Linked DNA regions of Homo sapiens: all the other regions are linked to region 2. The links are contacts of gene promoters, found by promoter capture Hi-C in human tissues and cell types (Jung and others, 2019). All regions are on one chromosome and are shown on one strand. Each heading gives the region's core, a stretch centred on a gene start or on the middle of the fragment in contact. The rest is flanking DNA. Distances are from core to core; before and after follow the strand shown. Region 1 overlaps DENND6A (DENN domain containing 6A). Region 2 holds the start of SLMAP (sarcolemma associated protein). Region 3 overlaps PDE12 (phosphodiesterase 12).

What was found. Contacts are between HindIII fragments. The study calls those that stand out against the background at their distance.
Region 1: a fragment that was not itself captured here is called in contact with the fragment with the promoter of SLMAP in region 2 in 1 of the 25 tissues and cell types used here (hippocampus).
Region 3: a fragment that was not itself captured here is called in contact with the fragment with the promoter of SLMAP in region 2 in 1 of the 25 tissues and cell types used here (hippocampus).

The regions. Positions count from the first base shown.
Region 1 is chr3:57,624,090-57,627,803 of GRCh38, forward strand. It overlaps DENND6A (DENN domain containing 6A), which reads right to left. Exons shown (of 20, transcript NM_152678.3): 20 at 1,365-3,714. It also overlaps a transcript of PDE12 not described here. Among named protein-coding and RNA genes, the nearest start is that of ARF4-AS1, 28 kb to the left of the region's middle. The HindIII fragment of the contact is 7,622 bases long and covers 1-3,714 here.
Region 2 is chr3:57,754,317-57,758,014 of GRCh38, forward strand. SLMAP (sarcolemma associated protein) reads left to right here and starts at 1,993. Exons shown (of 25, transcript NM_001377540.1): 1 at 1,993-2,026; 2 at 2,232-3,533. The coding sequence starts at 3,336. RefSeq lists enhancers at 1,099-2,001, 1,591-1,870, 1,901-2,080, 2,002-2,903 and a silencer at 2,451-2,730. The HindIII fragment of the contact is 9,488 bases long and covers 1-3,698 here.
Region 3 is chr3:57,561,157-57,564,352 of GRCh38, forward strand. It overlaps PDE12 (phosphodiesterase 12), which reads left to right. Exons shown (of 3, transcript NM_177966.7): 3 at 1-3,196. Among named protein-coding and RNA genes, the nearest start is that of PDE12, 6.5 kb to the left of the region's middle. The HindIII fragment of the contact is 8,870 bases long and covers 1-3,196 here.

The sequences.
Region 1 (3,714 bases), core at 22-2,521, 130 kb before region 2:
CTATCCTCCCACCTTAGCCTCCCAAGTAGCTGGGACCACAGGCATGTACCACCATGTCTGACTACTTTTTTTTTTTTTTGAGGCGGAGTCTCGCTCTGTCGCCCAGGCTGGAGTGCAGTGGGGCGATCTCGGCTCACTGCAAGCTCCGCCTCCCAGGTTCACACCATTCTCCTGCCTCAGCCTCCCCAGTAGCTACGAATACAGGCGCCCGCCACCACGCCTGGCTAATTTTTTGTATTTTTAGTAGAGACAGGGTTTCACTGTGTTAGCCAGGATGGTCTCGATCTCCTGACCTTGTGATCCACCCATCTCAGCCTCCCAAAGTGCTGGGATTACAGGCGTGAGCCCATGCCCGGCCATCTGACTACTTTTAAAAAACTTTTTTTAGAGATGGGGTCTCAGGTGCAGTGGCTCATGCCTGTAATCCCAGGACTTTGGGAAGCCAAGACAGATCACTTGAGGTCAGGAGTTCGAGACCAGCCTGGCCAACATGGTGAAACCCCGTCTCTACTAAAAATACAAAAATTAGCCAGGTGTGGTGGCACATACTTGTAATCCCAGCTACTTGAGAGGCCGAGGCAGGAGGACGGCTTCAACCTGGGAGGTGGAGATTGCAGTGAGCAGAGATCACACCACTGCACTCCAACCTGGGTGACAGTGCAAGACTCCGTCTCAAGAAAAAAAAAAGAATAATATAATGTAGTTGCTACTTTTAAAAAAGAAGAGGAAGAAGTAAAAATAATTGGGAGATTTGGGTTTTTAAAAAGGTAGCAAATGAAGGAGAATCTAGCAATAATTGAGTTTATTCAACTAAAATAATTATTTTTTTGAGACAGGTCTTGCTCTGTCACCCAGGCGGGAGTGCAGTGGTGTGATTATGGCTCACTGCAGCCTCAATCTCCTAGGCTGAGGCCATCCCCTCACCCACCTGAGCCACCTGAGTAGCTGAGACTGCAGGCATGTGCCACCATGCTCTGCTAATTTTTTGATTTTTTGTAGAGACGGGGTCTCACTTTGTTTGCCTAGGCAGATCTTGAACTCCTGAGCTTAAACGATCCTCCTGCCTCAGCCTCCTGAAGTGCTGAGATTACAGGTATGAGCCACCACATACGACCAATATTTTTACCAGAATATTTCATAAAATCAATGCACTGCTAGGAAAGATATGAAGTCACTTAACTGATCTGTCTAAACAGAACTGTTCACCTGTTCATAGTGAAGTACACAGGGTTTTCATTTGAAGTCCTTAAAAAAACAAACAACCTGGCAGGAAACAAAAGGAATCTCATAATGACGAGTTTCATTAACTATGCATTTTCTCCAAGCAGTCCAACCCCATTCAGAAATAACACAAAATATCCAAGTGCTTTAAAATCCAAGGCCTTTAATTTAGTTTTTGGTAATGACCATAAATGCCTTCACAAAACCTCTTTTTCACTGTAAATAGAAGGCACTAGGCATTACATAATACCCTTAAAGCAGTGATTCCTCCTGATGCTGGTAGAGATAAAACATTTAATGTCAGGGTTTACATAGTAACAAATTCTTCTTAAAAAAAAAAAGACAAATCTAAAAATCACGCACCAAAAATTATCAGTCACTCTTTCCCAGGTTCCCAGTGCAAATTTACATCATTTTTACAAGTACATAGTTTGAAATTAAGAGATAAACTAGGTATGATATGGTTTTCAACATGTGTTAGGTTTCAGTTAAATACAGTAAAAATGAAGACACCATTATCATGCTAATTGGCATCTTTTGCTACTGTTTAGCTGTGCAAAATAGACTTGAAATGATACATCCTGTAGTGGCATAATTTAAAAGATCCTTGATATGACACCAACAACTTACAAATTCTGGTCACAAACTGTATATAAATTGTACAATTATTAAAATATACCTTTTTGAAAAATAATAAGATGACCATTTATACCTAAATAAGGTTTCCCAGAAAGTTATGAAATACTTTTAGCATATAAAAGTAGTTGCTCCTTTTCTGAAAAGTCAGCTGTTGTTTCACAAAATAACTCATATGATCCAAGGCAAACGATTTCTTTCAAATGCCATATTCTCTCTATGACTTTGAGGTATGCTTCAAGAGACTGTATCCATAAGAACAGGGCACATTTGGGTATTAGACCACAGTTACAAACGCAAGGAGTCTTTCTTGGGTCAGGAATGCCCTTAAGAGTTATATCGACAGAGAACAAAAGATAGCTTCTGAAGCCATATCCTTTACAAATACATACAACTAAATTTGGTTATTTAGAGGATAATTCAAGACACAGCTATTAACCACATGCTGTGTCATGTGTGCCTATTTTAGTTAGTGGCTTCTGGCCAGGTGCGGTGGCTCACACCTGTAATCCCAGCACTTTGGGAGGCCGAGGCGGGCGGATCACCTGAGGTCGGGAGTTTGAGACCAGCCTGACCAACATGGAGAAACCCCATCTCTACTAAAAATACAAAATTAGCCAGGCGTGGTGGCACATACCTGTAATCCCAGCTACTCAGGAGGCTGAGGCAGGACAATCACTTGCACCCGGGAGGTGGAGGTTGCAGTCAGCCGAGATTGCGCCATTGCACTCCAGCCTGGGCAACAAGAGCAAAACTCCATCTCAAAAAAAAAAAAAGTGGCTTCTGTAGGATACTCTTATTCAAACACAAACCAAACAACCCTACTCTACCAAATCACATTCTTCTATTTTTGGCAAGGTAGTATTGTTTAAACAAAACAGAAACAAAAACAACAACAACAAAAGCTAACCATGACAGTGACTCAGGCGAAAGTTCCCATGTCAAACAATAGTAGGAAAAGTGTTTTAAGAAACATTAATGTTGGGAAAAATAAAACGCTACCAAACAAATAATGCCAGAAATCAATCTTATCATCACTCAAATAAGTATCACATAAAAAACTCATGAATGCCTTTGAAATAAGAATAGTTCAGTTTAAAAAAATAGCTGATTATGAGATTTATAATTAAAATGTCTTTGAAAAGCAGCCAAGTTCATTAGTTTAAACATTTAATAATATTTAAATTAGTATTTATTTAATTTTTTATTTTTGTTGAGACACAGTCTCACTGTGTCACCCAAGCTGGAGTCCAGGGGTGTAATCTCAGCTCACTGCAACCTCCGCCTCCCAGGTTCAAGTGATTCTCACATCTCAGCCTCCCAAGTAGCTGGGATTACAGGCGCGTGCCACCATGCCTGGCTAATTTTTGTATTTTTACTAGAGACGGGGTTTCACCATGTTGGCCAGGCTGGTCTTGGACTCTCGACCTTAAGTGACCTGTCCACCTTGGCCTCCCAAAGTGCTAGGATTACAGGCGTGAGCCACCACACCCAGCCTAATGTTTAAATTAGTAAAGGGTAAGAGAAAATAAACTCTTCCATCATTAATACTAGATGCCTTCTTGTCTTTGGAGAAACTGGTAACATTAAATTTTGAAAATGGAAGGGAAAATAATGAAAATCTATATGACAACTGAAAAAAACCCATCATGTCTATTAATAAACACAATGGGTAGCAAGAAACTTTTTTTTTAAACAATGATCACTCAACAGAATACCTTATAAAATTACGTATCATAATGAAGCTAAGGAAAAGCTTCAAGACTAGCAGCTGAACTGTGAAACATGTAGGACAACAGAAGGCACTACATAAGCATCAATTCCTTCTAACCATAGGACAGTTCAGTCTTTCTGTTC
Region 2 (3,698 bases), core at 743-3,242:
TTCCTTAACAGCCTAAAAGTTATCAGAAGTGAAAACTTTTCATCCTCTCATAAGAAAGCTTTCCAACATATCCTCATTTTGAATAGCATACCTGGAACACAGTGGTAGCTTGACACATATTTGTTGAATTGATGAAGAGCTTGAAAAACGAATATAACGTCTTTATTATATAATGCCTATTCTTTCCAGACTCACTTTGTGTCCCGCCTACTTTATCCTCTAATAATGAGTAACAGTATGTAATTTTCATTCATGCATCAAATACTTATTTATCCACTATTATGTGCCGGCACATTGGTGCACTGTTTCAAGTAGGCTCCTTCTTTTCCTTGCTATCCGTGTTTGTGGAAATTCATGAAACCATTCAGCGAATACCATATTTATTGTGGTTTTCCTATCTTCCTTCATTCAGTTCAGTTACTTCTCCCAGACCATCCCTGACCCCTTGGGCAGCTAGTGCCTGCCTCTATCTTAGCCCTGATTACATCAATTTCATGTTTGTCACTCCCTACCCTCATTTCTAACCCACAATACCGTTATGATCTCAGAAGGCAGGAATTGAAGTTTGGTTCAGTTATGTGTCCCCAGGGCCCAGCAAAAACCTAGGACACGGCCAAACTGTCTATATAAGTATTGAGATGAATAACTGCTACTTTTTCTTTCTTTCTTTCTTTTTTTTTTTTTTTTTGGAGAGACAGTTTCACTCTTGTTGCCCAGGCTGGACTGCAATGGCGCGATCTTGGCTCACCGCAACCTCCGCCTCCCGGGTTCAAGTGATTCTCCTGCCTCAGCCTCCCAAGTAGCTGGGATTACAGGCATGCGCCACCACGCCCGGCTAATTATGTATTTTTAGTAGAGACGGGGTTTCTCCATGTTGGTCAGGCTGGTCTCAAACTCCCGACCTCAGGTGATCCGCCTGCCTCGGCCCCCCCAAAGTGCTGGGATTACAGGCGTGAGCCACCGCGCCCGGCCTAATTGCTACTCTTTATTGAACAACATGGATTAACATTTTGAAGTCTCACCACATCAAGTGAATTAACTATTATTAACATGTCATCCATGAGAAAAAAGAGGCTTGAAAAAGTTTAGAAACTTGCTTAAGGTCACACAGTGGTGGAGCCTGTTATTGCAGGAATCTGAAGAATGAAGTCACCTTTGATTCTAAATGAGTAAGTCTCCTTCTCACTATTTTTTCTTAAAGTTTTCATTTAGCCCTTGCAAAGTCTTCCTTCTTTAGACCAATGACTCCTCATCTTGATATTGTAAGTGGGGGAAATACCCTCTTTTTTCACTTTGGAAATTATTCAATCTCTCTTTGGAAGAAACATGATTTTAAACTTTCTGGACGCTCCTTCTGTGGAAGAATCCGCGCAGGAGCCCTGGGGGCACATAATAGGTTCAGTGAGAAAGACTGTCATTCGAAATGGAATGCGGGAACTAAGATTTTTTTTTTCCGGGAAGAAAACATAACGAATTTAGCAGAGGGGAGAATGGTCCTTCTGTTAGGTGCACAAATCCTAAGACTTCAGGGAGTTTGGCGGCTCACACTTAAGGTAGCTGCGGGTGACTGTGTTGCCCACAGCTAAGATGGCTGCTAATGACCATCTCCTTTGGCTGGGTCTGTTCTTTTGCTCGCTAGTATTTTCATCGAGAATTAAACAGAATAAAATTTAGTAAAAGTTGGCACCCCCTTGCTAAGTAGATAAAATAAGAAGGTGGCACTGTTTGTTTGAAAAACCTTCTACGGCGCAAATTGTTCTTGCCCTTAACCAAAATGGTCGTTAAGGTTGTCCCGAGGTTTGAAGCTTCCAGCCCTTAACTAAGATGGCGCCTGGAGGCCCGTTAAAAATTACCTTGCCCTTTTTTCTGCCCTCTACCAACACGGCTTCCGTGGCGTCGTTCACGTGACATTCCTGGACTACGGCGCGGGAGAGGGGGTAGGAGGGCCCTTGAAGGGTGCGCGTTCCCGTGGCGGTGCACCGGGTAGGTTTCAGTCAGAGTCACTATGGCGGCCGGCGCTGGCAAGGTAAGCTGAGGCGGTGGTGGCGGCTAGGGAGGTAGGACCCGTCGTGGCGTCCTGGCTCCAAATCCTCGTAGCCTGCTTGCGGAGAGGTCGGCGGAGGTCGTGCCTAGCGGTGTGGGCTGGCGGGGGTCTGGCTGGAGGGGGCGACGGCTGAGGCGGGCGGGCTGAGGCGCCTGACGGCCGTTTGTTTTGATGTTTTCCCCACCAGGTCGGAAAGTTTCCTGCCTCGTCGGGCGCAGCTTGAGCTTGCCCCATCGGCCGCGATCGGTGGAGGCTGCGGCGGATCCAGCCCGGGGCCTCAAGGCCTCTCCCCAACCTCCGGGCCAGTCTCCCTCCCCCACCTTCTCGTCCGCCGGGAGCTGCGGCTGCCGTCCCTGAGATGCGACCCTCGCGGGGGCGACCCTGAGGGGAGGCGGCCCATGTGCTGAGCGGCGGCCCAGAAGCCTAGGCGTCCGGGGACCAACTTCCTGCCGCCTGGGAACTCGAGCCTCCCGGTGTCGCGCCTCGCTCGGTCCGCACCGGCCTGCGGAGCCGGGTCCCCGCCCTGGTCGCGGGGACGCTCGCCAGGTGCCCAGGAGTCCCGACTTGGCCACTGCCCGCGCCCCGCCGGCCTCCACGCCTCGCGCGGAGAACCTCAGCCACCGCCGTCTCGGATCGTGCCAGGCCGGGGACCGCGTCCCCCTTCCCGGGGCGGCCTCCGCTCAGCAGGGGCGATGCAGACTGTCCCGCCGGCCGTCTAGAGCCCCTCCGTCTCCGTCACCTCTCGCCCCTTCACTCCGGGCGAGGACTGGCGGTGGCTGCCCAGAGGTGCCCAGCCACACCTTCCTTCGGCCCAAAAGGACTTTCCTGGCCGCGCCGAACCGACCCTTCATTCATGCTGCAGTGCTGCAACGTTTCCGCCACCAAGGGGGAAAAGCGGCCGCGATCTCAAACCAAACACAAGAATTGGCGTGTGACTCATCTGCTTGGATACCTCCAGTCCCCAAACTGTGTTCCAGGAGTTTTCTTGGCCGAAGCTGCCCGATGTTTGAGCCTTTTCTTCCCAGAGAAGAAGATGGACTGAAAGCTGCCAGTTGGGGACTTTTTGTGATCACGGCGTTGCAGCGTTTTAAAGGAGGTGATGGGGCTTGCGCTGGCTTGTCTTCCCACCCAAGTGAAGAGTTGATGTTCACTGGTTATGCTTAGACAATGTGCAGTTTGTGTTAATTTAAAATTTTGGGTGGGATAGGGGCATAGGCTTGTGAAGGGCAGTCCGGATCCGGAGGAACTCCTCTTTGTCCCTGGTAGGAGAGACACCCCCAGTCTATCCTCGATGCCGTCAGCCTTGGCCATCTTCACTTGCCGCCCGAACTCGCACCCGTTTCAGGAGCGTCATGTCTACCTGGACGAGCCCATCAAAATCGGCCGCTCAGTGGCCCGCTGTCGACCAGCGCAGAATAATGCCACTTTTGATTGCAAAGTGCTATCAAGGAACCACGCTCTCGTCTGGTTTGATCACAAGACGGGCAAGGTAATGTCACCACATTGTCCAGCGGCATTGTTTAACAAACTTTTTTTCCCCTTTTGCCCTCCCTGAGAGGACTAATGTATGCAGGATCCCAGGGTTTGCATCCAGAGGAGGCTTTGCGCAAAGCCACGAATCAACTGTTTGTGTGCCTGGTTCTAGTGGAAATTT
Region 3 (3,196 bases), core at 628-3,127, 190 kb before region 2:
AAAATGTTCATAAATGAACAGGGTATTTGACCATATGATATTAGAAAATACAGCACATTACTTTATGAGAAACTACCTACTGATATGGGCTTGAAATTTTGGATGAATCATTGAGCATTTCTACACTAGAAGTAATTTCAAAATTGTTGGTTTTTATAAACAGGAAAAAGGTTGAGTAGTGGGACTTTTAAGCATCTCTGAAATAAAAAACTTCTTTTTACAGACAAGCATTATAGTTTGAGTTACAGACAACAGTGTGTATATATGTAATATATATATAGTAAAATGAAATTTAAATATGAAGCCAAACTTTTTAAAATTAGAAACTACAAATGGTTATACTGATTAGTGTCTAGCCTAGAGTGGTAACCATGCTTTACTAATTCAGTTATGAAATACATTATTTATAATGCATTAGCTGTATTAGCTGTTGCTTTTTTGATGTTCAGGATAACTATGTTATCTCATTTCTGCATTTAATTAATAGCTCGAGTATTAAAAGCCCACTCCCTTCAAGAAAAGCTTTGATTTTCCCCAGTCATGAAAGCCCTTGTTTCAAATTCTTTAATCTCTGAACCTAGTATCATAAGAATTTCCTCTTTTGATAACATCTGTACTTTCATATTCTGCTCACTATCAAATGTATTGTTAACACTTAGTAAGTTTGAAAATGAAGGGGTTTTATCTGCATTTGACATTGAACCTTGAAGTACTTTAAGTACTCCAAGGGGAAAATTAAAGTGGAAGTTTCTTCGGATCTTGTTTAGAAAAAACTATAAATAAAAAATTGATGCTACCAAATTGTGCCTTCCTAAATAACATTTTTGAGAGCATTTTAACAGCAGTTTACAAATATGTAAATAATAGATTAAAACCAAATCTTGATTCTCTTGTGAATTTTTTTTTCATTTTAAAAATATGTTTTTGGGCTGTTTTCAAAGAAAGATGTTGATAGAACCCTTAGAGTGACTTGGGAGAAAACAAAGTGTCACATCAAAAAGTTGAGAAACATTTTGAAAGAAAAAATTCGAACATGCCCATGAAAAAAGCATACAGCTTCCACATTAACACTGGCTAGATTAAACTCTAGTCAGAAAAACTCAGCACTTAACAGACATTCCATGTCCTATATCCTTAATTTTGATGTTTTCTGACTAAACAATATACTCAGATTGTATACAGGCATTTCACATTATTAGGACATGGAATGTTATTGTGAAGTGCCATATACTGTGATCAAATCTCCAGTATACGGATACGTTAAAATGATTGGAGTCCAAAGGTAGGGAACACTAAGAAAATGTATAAATAGCATACACATTTCTTTGTACTCATGAGTTAGAATGCAGTGTTATTCAGAAATGTCTGTTTAAAGCACCTATGTGATTGCATTTTTCTATTACATTTGGATTTTTTAGTACATTTAATTTTAAGAAAACATGGGAAATCTAGCGACTTTCTATGGTAAACCACATTTTATAATGTCACAAGTTCTTGCTATAGGAATTAACATTCTAGAATTTTATATTGATTATAAAAGAGTATTTCAGAACATATTATTCTGTTAAAATGAACTCTTGCACAGTTGCCGCTACAGCAAATGTGTCTGCCAATAATCAAAATTCATGAGCAAACAATCGTTTCTGGCTGTAATGTATGTTCTTTTTGAAATTCTGTATGCTAAAATCAGTTGTTTCAAAATTTCAAGAATTCCACTGAGTAGTGATTTTTCTGAGTACTAAGCTATGATCTCATCAGAATGTGCTGGTTTCAGTCTGGAGATAGATTTCTGAGGAGCCTAATACAAGGGAGAGAATGTCCAAAGAACACTACTGTGGAAAGTTCTTACGATGGAAATTGACATCTTTTGTATCTCATTCTCCAGCCGTGAAATAAAGGCAGAGGTTCCCTGCAAACTAGTTTGGTTGGGATAAATCCAATATTTATATATAATGAAAAATAAAAGTTTGCATTATTAGTTTATCACAAGACCCATGTGACAACTCAGAAAATATTCTCAGCATAATTTTTTTAAGAGATAGAGTCTCACTGTTACCCAGGCTGGAGTGCAGTGGTGCAGTCATAACTTACTACAGCCTCAAACTGCGGGGCTCAAATGATCCTCCTGCCTCAGCGTCCCAAGTAGTTGAGATTACAAGCCCAACCTTCCATAACTGAAAACTAACTTTCTTTTTTTCTTTTTTTATTATTATACTTTAAGTTCTAGTGTACATGTGCCCAACGTGCAGATTTGTTACATAGGTATACATGTGCCATGTTGGTTTGCTGCACCCGTTAACTCGTCATTTACATTAGGTATTTCTCCTAATGCTATCCCTCCCCCAGCCCTGAAAATGAATTTTTTAAACACAAATAAAAAATATTTCAGTGTTTTGAGAATTTTAATAATTTGCTTAATATAGTACAGGAAGGCAACACTATCTAGAGGGCCAGGCATAGTGGCTCTTGACTGTAATCACAACATTTTGGGAGGCTGAGGCAGGAGGATCACTTGAGCTGAGGAGTTCAAGACCAGCCTTGGCAACATTGTGAGACCCTATCTCTGCAAAAAATAAAATTAACCAGGCATGGTGGTGCATGCCTGTAGTCCCAGCTGCTCAGGAGGCTGAGGCCAGAGGATCACTTGAGCCCATGAGGTCAAGCCTGCAGTGAGTTGTGATCAAGGTGCGCTGCACTCCAGCCTGGGTAATAGAGCAAGACCCTGTCTTCAAAAAACCACTCTAGATTTCATGTTGTAGGGGGTAGGGAGGACAATTTTTAACAGCTTTAACTGACATGGGTAATATATAAGTTCTGTGTTCTCACTTTATATGAAAGTACTTTTTTAAATGTTAAAAATACTAGAGCTGTATTAACTTCGTGATTTTATTTTTCTTCTTAGCACTAACTTCAAAATAACCATACAGTACTGCTTGTAATTTTTGTATTTTTAGTAGAGACAGGGTTTCACCATATTGGCCAGGCTGGTCTTGAACTCCTGAACTCAAGTGATCTGCCTGCCTCAGCCTCTGAAAGTGCTGGGATTACAGGCATGAGCCACGGTACCCGGCCTAAATTTTAATTTTATATATAAATGGCAAAATAATCTTAAATATAGTAAATCTGTTCACCTATCTGCTATGCTAGCAAATTCTGGGTTGTCAAAAATCCATGTTCATACTGTCAGTGTTAGATT